Linked DNA regions of Homo sapiens: regions 1, 3 and 4 are each linked to region 2. Evidence: promoter capture Hi-C in 16 types of primary human blood cells and fetal thymus (Javierre and others, 2016). All regions are on one chromosome and are shown on one strand. Each heading gives the region's core, a stretch centred on a gene start or on the middle of the fragment in contact. The rest is flanking DNA. Distances are from core to core; before and after follow the strand shown.

Region 1 (2,700 bases), core at 21-2,520, 600 kb after region 2:
CAATAGGACTAAACCACTGGATTAAATCAAGTGAGTCTATGCGTGGACTCTCAGTCCATATCCCTTCAGTGTTGTTTGGAGTTCGACAATCAATAACCTTTTCTGGGACACACTCTAAAGACTGACTTACCGGCACTGCAAAACTCATTTCCAGGAGGCATAGGATCAGTATCAGGTCCTTCATTTTGAAAAGTGGAATCTAAAACATAATTAAGTTGGAGAATTAAATCAGATGAATTTTTATTCAGAATGGTTAAAAGACAATTTTTGAAAATGAGCCTGAGTCTCTGCTCTTACAAAAACCACCGGGATAAAGGTTAGAAGAACAAAAACAAAAACTAAATGTTACTAAACAACCGATTTGTATGTAGTAGTTTCTGAAATAAATTAACAAGCAATTAAAAAATATCTAAGCACGTTTTAAATGGATCTACAGCCTAAATAAGTATGTAGGAACAACCTCCATCGATATTCTTTGTGATATATTTCATTTCATAAAGTGAATTATGAGTTTAAAAATCCTTCCCACTAAGTAAAATATTGGTCTATAAGGTATTATTCACAGAAGTTTATACTTTGCTTACCCTTTGGGACACATTTTGAAATGCATGTGAAATGTAATGCAACTAAGTCATTTTATAACAAACCTTTATTTGCAGGAATAGAGGGTACATCATTGCATGTTTAGGTAATCTACGTAACCATGACAAAATTTTTCTTTTCAAATGAGAGTAAATTGGCTATCTTAATTTTCTTTGATGTTAGTGGAAAATATGTCTCAAATTTAGCTTTCCTCTTCCTAAAATGAATTATCTTTTAAAATTTATTCTATAAATTCAAAAAGCTCTTTATTCTTACATGAATAGAGATCTGAATAGCCTAGAAATTTACTCATCTTCTAATATTAAAAAGAATTAGGCACTATAATCAAAAACATTAAAAAAAACACAATCTATAAATAAAAGTCTTTTTTTTTTTCTTAGTTGAATGGGTGTTAGGCATGTCATCTCTGGGACATGCTAATGGATTACAACAAGCAATAATTCAGCTACTGGTGACAAATGAAGATAAATCCTCTTTATAAAAGCTGTCAGGAGATAGGAAAAAAAGAATTTACAGGAAACACATGGAAATCATAAAATCCCATTTTACCTTAGATGCTGACATGCACTGTGCTCTCAGGGCCTGATGATGCCAACCAAGATAGTTCTAAGAAAAGAAGATTAAAATTTTTTTCAGGACTGTGCGTGGGACTTGCTCTGTACTTCTCATTCAGGGAAGATTAGAAACCTTTATTTAAAGTGCCAATCCACCAATCAAAGTGAAGCAAAATGGCGAGGGGTGGCGGGGGGGAGTTGGGGCGGGAATCTCTGCTCCTGCAATTAGTCCACACCCTTTTATTGCGTGCAGGGACATTGGCCCAGTAGGGTCTCATTATTTTTAATTGTACTGCAGCCCCTGTACTTATTCAGAGAACTTGATAGCAGGGAAGGCAGTAAAGGAATAATGGACATAGGCTCTGAAGACAATTATTTTGGTGAGCTGGGGAAAATATATGTAAAATAGGTGCAAAACAAAACCTGTTTTGTGCAGGTTTTATCTGCAGATAAAGCTAGTGACCCAATGCTAGCATTCTTCAGGTTTTCACCCTCCTGTTTGTTGTAGTAAAAGAGACTACTGTCCTTCCCCCCAGCACACACAGAGTTTAAAAGAAAACACTAAAATGTTAGATGGAAAATTAATGTGTGTGATTTCTTCCTTGAATTTCCTAGATATTTTCATATCTGGAGATAATTGATTAGAGATAGCCAAGCTTTTGTAAGAAACTACAGTTGGACCCTTTGCAAGAATCAGGTTTACTTCAGGTAAACGTTTGGTGCATTTTAAAAAAAATCTGTGGGGACGGGGACGTAAATCAGAACATTCTCTATGAACCAAATCAATGGGCACAAGTGTCAGTTCACTCTTCAGATAGACACATTCCCAGGCATTAGTATCAAGCCAGGTTAATAAGACATATTTCGATCACTTAAAAGGTTAACGTCAACACAGATTGGTTTTTCTCCGTGAACAGATAATATCTTGGATGTGGATTGAATATTAGCTGCTTTTGTTACTTCTCTGCCCATCCTTGTCTTTCCAAAGTTGTGATTTCAGATATGGTAGGGATAAGCATTTAAGATTAGTTCTGAAGAAGGGATGAGTCAGTACACTCTTTAGGGAAGTAGGGATCTTGTCAATTACAGGGAACATTGAGGAAGCTGGTATTTTGAGAGAAAGCTGTATCCATACCCAAATGTAGGCCTAACAGCTTCAAATAATGTTATCTTAGAAGCTGCTCCTGAAAACCTCTGTGTTCCACTGATACCAGAATTATCTTTAGGATGCAAAGAAATGAAGAATGTGAATGTGTTTTGCAAACAGCAAAATGTTATTGAAATGAAAAGTATTATTTTTCATGCTGTCTCTGGTGCTTGATGCAGTCCCTTAATCTCTTTTGAGCCCCAGTTCCTTCTTCTGTTATGTAAGGATAATAATTAATGACCACAAGCTAGTCTTTTTTTTTTTTGAGACGGAGTCTCGCTGTGTTGCCCAGGCTGGAGTGCAGTGGTGTGATCTCAGCTCACTACAACCTCCGCCTCCTGGGTTCAGGCGACTCTACTGCCTCAGCCTCCTGAGCAGCTACGATTACAGGCCTGC
Region 2 (2,723 bases), core at 217-2,716:
TTGGCTATAAAAAGCTACTGAATATTGTTCTAATGGCATTGACGAATCTACTGAAATCACAATGAAAAAAAAAAGCCCAAATGAGCAATGTACACTTTAATTAATTTAATTCAGGTAGTATTACAACTCCAAGTCCCAAGATACAAGAAAAAAGAGAAATACAGTACAACACAGTGTCTCTTAGGAAAGGAACTGCTGCAGGATTTGAGACAATGAGCGTTTAGTACAGCCCAGTGTTCTTGATTTCTCATTAGGAGCAACTTTCCAGGGCACTGAAGCGAACCAGGAAAAGAAATGGGGAGGGTAAGCCAAAGGGGTCGCTGCTCTTCAGTGTCAAGTTGGAAAGAGCTTGCTGCGATCAATTATGCTGAGAAGGTAGGGCCTTGAGAGGGAAGGAAGGATAGAAAAAAACAGTTTTACAGGGCGCTGAAAAAAGTGATAGAAGAGAGGTAGAACTGCTTCCTCCATCTTTCACGTCAAGTTCAAGTTTTTCTTTTTGTTCTATAAGAACTTTTGTCTTTATGGTGCTTGCTGCGGTTTGCTGATGTAGTTCCCAGGTCCTGCCTTCCTCTGGTGACTTATTAACGGACTGGCAACGGCTGAGTAAAATGCACTTAAGAAAAAAGAAATCACCTCTCTTTGCCAAGACTCACATGCTGCCCAGTACCTGAGGGAGAGCTCCGTTGTCGCTGGCCAAGAGAAATTCCAGTTTAACCTATGCCTCCCCTAGCCAAATCCATTGCAAATAAATGTGTGTGTGCCACTTGCAGAGAATCTGCCTGACTCACCCCCCGCCTTTGGCGTGCCAGGGAGAGATGTAAATGCTCCGTCCTGGAGCTGGCAGTGAAGTGGGGGCCGCGGCCTCGGTAGCACCAAGAGTCCCCAAATCTCCCCCTGTGATGGGTTTAGGGATGTGTTCCTCTCAAGCAGGTGCCTGGTCACAGGGCGACCACCCAGGCTCACAGCAACACACGTGTCACTGAGCCCGAGCCCAGCCCGCCGCAGAACTGGCCCCGCAGTCCTCGTAAAGACGCCCAGTTGCGCGCAGGGGACTTAGCAGTGAGGGAGAAGCAGACCACCCAAACTCTTCCTCTAAACCCTAAGAAGGAAAAAAAATACTTTTCCGCGGAAGCAGCCTCCACACACCGCCCGCGCCCAGCTCAGGGGATGCCCGGCCCGCAATTGACCTCTCTCTCCCTCCCAGGAGCGCGCTGAGGCCGCCTGCGCGCCCTACGGAATCGGCCCCCGGGCCCGCGCCCGCCTCCGCCTTGGAGCGAGGGACCCCATCGACCCTCCCGGCAGCTGCCGGGGCCGGGCGCTCACCTCCTGGGGTCTGGCTTCCGTCGCTCCTCCAGTTTGGCGGCGGAGTGTGGGGCTGCAGCGGCCACTGCCACTGCCGCCGCCGCCGCCGCCTTCGCTGCCACCGCGGCCGCCGCCGCCACCGAAGCGCTGCCCGGCGCGCCGCCGGGGTTGGAGGCTGGGGGGCCGCGGAATCCCTGGAGGCGCGAGCCCGGGACGCGGCGGGGCCGAGCCGCGGGAAGTTGTCTGCGCCGGGCGCGGAGCGAGCGGGGCGCCAGTCACCCGCGCCCAAGTAGTCACAACTTTGCCGCCTGGGTGGGTGCGCGCTCCGGAGAGAGGCGAGCGCGGGAGAGCGGGGCAAAGGCGCTGGGGCGGGAGGGTCTTCGGAGCAGGCAGGACTGCAACCTGAACGGCCCGCGAGGAAAGGGGAAAGGTGGCGCGGGGGGATGTCTACACAGCCTGTGTGGTGCGCGGCGAGCGAGTGTGTAAGAGCGCGGGCGTCTACTCTACTTTGCCTCCTGCAGCTCCTGCATATTTATGGGGATCTCTGATGTTCCTGCTAGTAACTAACACTGCAGCAGTGGAGCCCAGCCCAGGCGCCCCTCGGGAGCAAGCCGGGGTGCGGGGGCTCACGGAAGGCGGCCGCGGCGGAGGCTGTGCCGCGAGCGCGAGCCTGCGATCCATATTTAAAGCCGTAAGTGGCCTCGGCCGGCCCCCTGCCCTGCCCTCGCTCGTGCCCGCCAGCCCGGCCCCCACCGCTCCGGGCCGCTGCTCGGCGTCAGCCGCCCGGGCATCGGCGGCGGGGAGGGGCCTCGAGCCGCGCCGCCTCCGCCGGGGGCTTGGGCTCTGTGCGCAGCGCCCGCCCGGAGCTGGCGGAGGACCCGGCTCCGGACCGGCCGCTCTTGCCTCCCAGGTTCCTTTTCTCTCACGCCCTGGGCTGGGTCCTAGGTCCAGCTTTTTGTCCTACTCAAAAGAGTTCCCCAGTGGGGAGAGCCTGTGCTTTCATGCAGAACTAAAATTGCGTGAGTTTCCCAGCTCAGATCACTCTTGACTCTACTTTATAAAACTTGGGGCGTATAGAGTGCTGCCATAACACAGTATTAAGTAATTGTTCACCTTTAACAAAAGATGTCTGAAGATAACGTGGTTGTCAACTGTGTCCTTCACTTATGTCACTGATGCCTTTCTGTCTTCCTTGGGAGTTAGGAAAACAGCCTTAGCAAAGTGATTATTTGTATTTATTCTGTTCCTAAGTCTAATAATGAGGTTCAAGTACTCTTTGCCAAGCAAATAATATATCAGTGATCCAGCACCATTGCCATTGGTAAACTATTGAATCATAAGTAAACCATTAAGATATGAACAGACTGTCAGCACAGACACACCATCTATTGTTCTGGGTACTGCTAGAGAGTAGTCACTTA
Region 3 (2,700 bases), core at 15-2,514, 570 kb after region 2:
TTTAAGTAATTATCAAACCGGTTGTTAGGCGCGGGTCTCCAGCTGGAAAGCTGCTGAACCCTGGGGAAAGATGAAAGTGCAGGGAGACAGCTGAAGGCATCAGCAAAAGTTATTATGACAAACAGCTTTATAATAATCATTCCTCAAAGCTGGAATTTGTGTTTCTAACGTCTGGCTTCTGTGAAGTGTGGTTGCTGCTGTTTCTACTTTACCCCCAGTCTCTAATGTTTATGGAAGAAAGAAATCAACTAAACTTCTGGTTTGATCTTTCTCTTTGTAAAATGCAGCAGTCTGTCTGTTGATGTCACTTGACTGGTAGCCACATACTGTCTATAGAAGTCAACTTTTTTAGTACTGAGAAGTTTTGGAAGGAAGAGAAACACACTTAGAAGTTCAAAGCTTTTATGTGTTTAAGACTCATTTTCCCAAAGACAATGTTATTGAGTTCTAGAAAAATTCAGACACTTAGCCTGGGTCAGTTTAAATATTTGCTTCATCTTGTATAACACTCCACATTGGTGGGTATTTAAATGATTAGATGAGGGTTGCTTAACTTTAGGTCCGTGAATGAACTTTAGGCTGTCTGAGTAATCGCTGACATTGTAGGCAGAATTTTACGTGTTGTTTCCATTTACGTTTTTGGGAATAATAATTCACAGCTTTCATTAGGTTCTCAAAAGAATACTTCAGTGCTGTGGAGGATCTGTGTGGACGAGTGACAAATGGGAAATCCAGAGGCTTGGGTTCTTCTGCCTCCAATAGCAGCCAAAACTTCAAAAAAGACCTTACTCTTCTGGACTTTTAGTCTCCTCACCCATAAATGAGGAGGTTGAATTAAATCAATCAATGTTTTCCCAAAGTTCATTCATGTACATAGTCATTTATGGACTGTCTTTATGATTATTGCCATATCCAATCACAACCTGTTCTATTTACTTAATATTTTTTCTTACATCTCATCACTTAAGAAAATCTATTTTAAAAGAAATCTGTTTTGTGCGTCTGTAAATGGAAAACCAGCATCACATGAGGTAAATTTTAAAAATGTTATTAATTTACTACATAAAGATTATTGTCTTTACACCAATGGTAGGTGTGCCACACCTGACACATTGGCATAATGGATGTACAGTCATACCTTGGTATCTGTGGGGGATTGCCAGGACCTCCCTGAGGATACCAAAATCTGCAGATGCTCGAGTCCTTTATATAAAATGAAATAGTATTTGCATATATCCTATGTACATACTCCCAAATACTTTAAGTCAACTCTAGATTTCTTATGATACTTAATACAATGTAAATGCTCTGTGAATAGTTTTAACACTGTATTGTTTAGAGAATAATGACAAGAAAAACAGTCTGTACATGTTCATTGTAGATCCAATGACATTTTTCATTTGCAGTTGGTTGAATCCACAGATGAAAAACCCCTGGATATGGAGGGCTGACTGTATTGCATTTACTCCTCTAGATTCACTCTTCACCCTTTTCTACTCAGAAGAGCCCAGACAACGCTTTCTTCACTAAGGCATTAAGAAACGAAGACTGTAGTTTTTCTCTGTGGACCAGATATGATAACGAGGGATGCTGCTTTTGAATTTCAATGGGAAAAATAGGAGTCTGAAATAGTAGACAGAGGCCAGGGGGTGGTGCTTATCTTTCAGAGACAAGGATGCAATGACCAATAAGCCACAGGATGGAATGCTAAGCAGCATGTTTTGACCAATAGGGTTCTGTATGATGGCTACTTCATCACAGGTCTATAGGAAAAAATAGATAGACATCCTGTCCTACATTGATTGTCCACTTTCCGCTTGACATAAATGTGCTGCTTGACATAAAAAGACAAAAAAAAAATTCTACATTCACTGAGCCTAACTCAAATTGCTGTGGTGGGATGTATAGTTTCTTATCTAGTTTCCAGACCTAAAGCCCCTCAACTGAGGGGACATCAGGTTCCTATGAGGAAGAACCTTGAAATGTGGCCAAATTGTATACCATGATAGTTTCCCTAAGCCACTATCAGAGGGACCTGAGGCAATTAAGTAGGGAGAATGTGTAAGATGGGGGGTTATTAGGAAGTGGTTCTGAACCTTAAAAGCCTCATATTTACTGGTTAAAGCTTATAGAAGTAAGATGAGAAACAGATTTTTTTTTTTTTTTTTTTTTGAGATGGAGTCTTGCTCTGTCACCCAGGCTGGAGTGCAGTGGCGCGATCTCGGCTCACTGCAACCTCCACCTCCTGGGTTCAGGCAATTCTCCTGCCTCAGCCTCCTGAGTAGCTAGGATTACAGGCACACACCACCACACCCAGCTAATTTTTGTATTTTTAGTATAGATGGGGTTTCACTATGTTGGCCAAGCTGGTCTCAAACTCCTCACCTCAAGTGATCCACCTGCCTTGGTCTCCCAAAGTGCTGGGATTACAGGTGTAAGCCACTGCACCCGGCCTTTTTTTTAATTTATTTTTTATTTTGATCTTTATTTTTTGAGACAGGATCTCACTCTGTCACCCAAGCTGGAGTGCAATGGCGTGATCACAGCTCACTGCAACCTCCACATCCTGGGCTCAAATTATCCTCCTACCTCAGCCTCCCAAGTAGCTGAGACCACAGGCAGGCACCACCATGCCTGGCTAATTTTTGTATTTTTTTGTAGAGAAGGGGTTTCACCATGTTGCCCAGGCTGGTCTCTAAC
Region 4 (2,700 bases), core at 1-2,500, 560 kb after region 2:
TTTTAAGAAAGTATACAATTAAAGAAGCTTCTCAGGCAGTTTAACTTTTAAGTCAGAATTTTATTTTGAGAATAATCAATAGAGAATCATAGAAAATAAAAGTCTGATCTACTGTAAAGTTTTTGAATGTTCTGTTCTATTCTTTTTGAGTTCAGGATTTGAGAACATGAGAATTATGTGACAAGATGATTCATCTTTCTGATATGTATTGAATTTGATTAATGATCTGGGATATGAGTCATGTGAAAGGTATTTCTATTTTTAAGCATCTACCTTCTAATAACCCTTGGTACAATTGGTCACTTTTGCTAGCTAAAAAACTTAGCAGATAAGGTAACATCAACTAGATTTTAACACAAATCCACATCTACCTTGAAAAGGAACACTGAAGTACATAGGTAGGCTGATGGCTGGGGAAATTACTACTTTGCCTCGATTTGAGAGTTTAAGACTTTCAAATCTCCCTCTTTTTACCTTTTTCATAAGAAATATTATATATGAGACAATTTTCCAATATTCTCCTTTTTAGTAAATGTGTAGGATAGGACTCTGGATAACTTCTCCTCTGAGACTGAACGTACATACCTCCTCACTTTTACTGCTAAATCCAGGCATTCGGGGCATGTGCATCTGGAAGTAAGAGAATGTCAGTGACAAATGCAGAACATCAGTTGAAATAAGCTCAACAATTGTTCCTAACGGAACACAAAGAGAAGAGCTAACATTTAAAAAATACTCACTGGCATAGCAACAGAATTACCAAGAAGCCCTAGAAAGACCAGGAGAATCTTCATTTTGCCTTTTGGTACCTAGAATAAAAAATTGATTTTTATTTTTGGTCTGTGAAATAAGTATGCTTAGGGCACTCTGCACTTATCTAAGTACTAGCCTACTTGTCTGTCAAGGAGAGTATGGAAATGGATGGGGCCCCTGCTGCCAGTTTTATTTTATGTCAAGAAACTATTAGATAGTTATCATCTGGTACTTTTCAAGCTGCCAAAAGAGTCAGATTAAAAGGAAATATAAGTGTGTGTGCGTGAGAGAGAGAGACAGGGAAAGAGAGAGACAGGGAAAGAGAGAGAGACAGAGAGAGAGAGAAAGAGAGAGATATCATAGCACCAGAATGTGAAAATTAGAAATTAGGAGGTTATCCCCCAAATAGGAATATTAATGGGTTTGAGTTTCTAGTTACTAGTTGATTTATAAAGAAATAGTGATGTCCAACTACATTCATTGTACAGAATAATCTCAGTTTCAAGGAGGGCACACTCCAAAATCAAAACTTTGTGCTACTTTCTAAGATGTTATAGATAATATTCTGTTATATAGAGACTAAGTAAACTGGAATATGCAGAATCTTATTTTTTTCCTGGTTTCCTCTATTGTTCCTGTTATTATTATTATCATCATCATCACTTCCTTTAAAAATCACTTATGTGGCCAGGCGCGGTGGCTCACGCCTTAATCCCATCACTTTGGGAGGCTGAGGTGGGTGGATCCCCTGAGGACAGGAGCTTGAGACCAGCTGAGCCAACATGGTGAAACCTTGTCTCTACTAAAAATACAAAAATTAGCCGGGTGTGGTGTCTCACACCTGTAATACCAGCCACTTGGGAGGCTGAGGCAGGAGAATCGCTTGAACCCAGGAGGAGGAGGTTGCAGTGAGCCAAGATCGTGCCATTGCACTCCAGCCTGGGCGACAGAGTGAGACTCTGTCTCAAAAAAAAAAAAAAATCACTTATGCTCTAAGATGGTCAGGAAAATAGGAAGAAATAGGAAATAGGCAGAATAGTAAATTTATCTCTTTATTAGATACCTTGATTAAACATATAGACTTATGTATGAAGTTTGGAGATTGTTTTTAACGGGGTTCATTCATTTATCCCACTCTAGTTAATTATGAAAGACTTGTAAAATTAAGTCTCGTATTTACATCTTGGAACAAGGTTTATTCTGAAACATTTACTTGAGTAATTTCTTAAGAAAACTTTCTATTTGCATATACAATAGAGGAAAATAAAAGGTTTTAATCAGAATGATTCATTTTCATCGTATATCAGATATAGTCCATTTCCTAGCAGAGTAACCAACATGTAGACACTCAGTTGTTTTCATTCCTTTCATTCTTTCTTCCTTTTCTGGACATAAAATCTATCTAGCATAATTGGAGCCAATGCTCACCCTTCTGTTTACTTCCTATAGGAGCAACATAAATGACGCTTTAGCATTTTTATAATGGACATTTTCCTAAATTGTGGGTGTAATCAGTTATCTTTCATACATTAGAAAAATTGGCAGAATGTAATTAAACAAAGGAAGCAGTAGTATGTAAATACCTTTCCTACTATTTAAAGATTTTCAGAGTTAGAACATCATAGAGAATGAAAATAACAGCTGAATGTTATTTTAGAGTGTTTAGTATAGGTTACAACAATATGTGGAAACTAATAAAGAGAATACTGGTGAAAGCTTTCTTTGCTAAATGTTTCTAAGATTATGGCCCAAGATTTAAGGGTGCTTTTGGATGGTTAATTTCTGCCTTGCTTAATCATTCATCTCATCTCTCTAGTAGCTGTCACAGTGATTCTTGATAATATATGTAGCCTTTATATTTGCAAATAGAAAACTCATTTTCTCTTTTGTAAAATTAATATATTATGTTGGATGACTGAGATCCCTTCCATCTCTAAAAGTTAGTGA

Evidence for each region. The method cuts DNA at HindIII sites, captures the fragments that hold promoters and counts their contacts. A CHiCAGO score of 5 or more calls a contact.
Region 1: the fragment with the promoter of AMBN here is called in contact with the fragment with the promoter of SLC4A4 in region 2 in 1 of 17 cell types (fetal thymus); the score reaches 6.8 in fetal thymus.
Region 3: a contact is called between a fragment that was not itself captured here and the fragment with the promoter of SLC4A4 in region 2, in 1 of 17 cell types (fetal thymus). The highest score is 9.2, in fetal thymus.
Region 4: a fragment that was not itself captured here is called in contact with the fragment with the promoter of SLC4A4 in region 2 in 1 of 17 cell types (fetal thymus); the score reaches 5.4 in fetal thymus.

What each region holds. Positions count from the first base shown.
Region 1 is chr4:70,590,826-70,593,525 of GRCh38, reverse strand. It overlaps AMBN (ameloblastin), which reads right to left and starts at 1,270. Exons shown (of 13, transcript NM_016519.6): 1 at 1,153-1,270; 2 at 131-199. The coding sequence starts at 1,167. The HindIII fragment of the contact is 2,262 bases long and covers 1-1,815 here.
Region 2 is chr4:71,186,002-71,188,724 of GRCh38, reverse strand. It overlaps SLC4A4 (solute carrier family 4 member 4), which reads right to left and starts at 1,466. Exons shown (of 26, transcript NM_001098484.3): 1 at 1,324-1,466. LOC124900712 (a long non-coding RNA gene) reads left to right here and starts at 2,201. Exons shown (of 2, transcript XR_007058133.1): 1 at 2,201-2,723. The HindIII fragment of the contact is 10,115 bases long and covers 1-2,723 here.
Region 3 is chr4:70,610,957-70,613,656 of GRCh38, reverse strand. No RefSeq gene overlaps it. Among named protein-coding and RNA genes, the nearest start is that of ENAM, 16 kb to the left of the region's middle. The HindIII fragment of the contact is 1,726 bases long and covers 402-2,127 here.
Region 4 is chr4:70,629,779-70,632,478 of GRCh38, reverse strand. It overlaps ENAM (enamelin), which reads right to left. Exons shown (of 9, transcript NM_031889.3): 3 at 741-809; 4 at 586-630. Among named protein-coding and RNA genes, the nearest start is that of ENAM, 2.4 kb to the right of the region's middle. The HindIII fragment of the contact is 2,442 bases long and covers 30-2,471 here.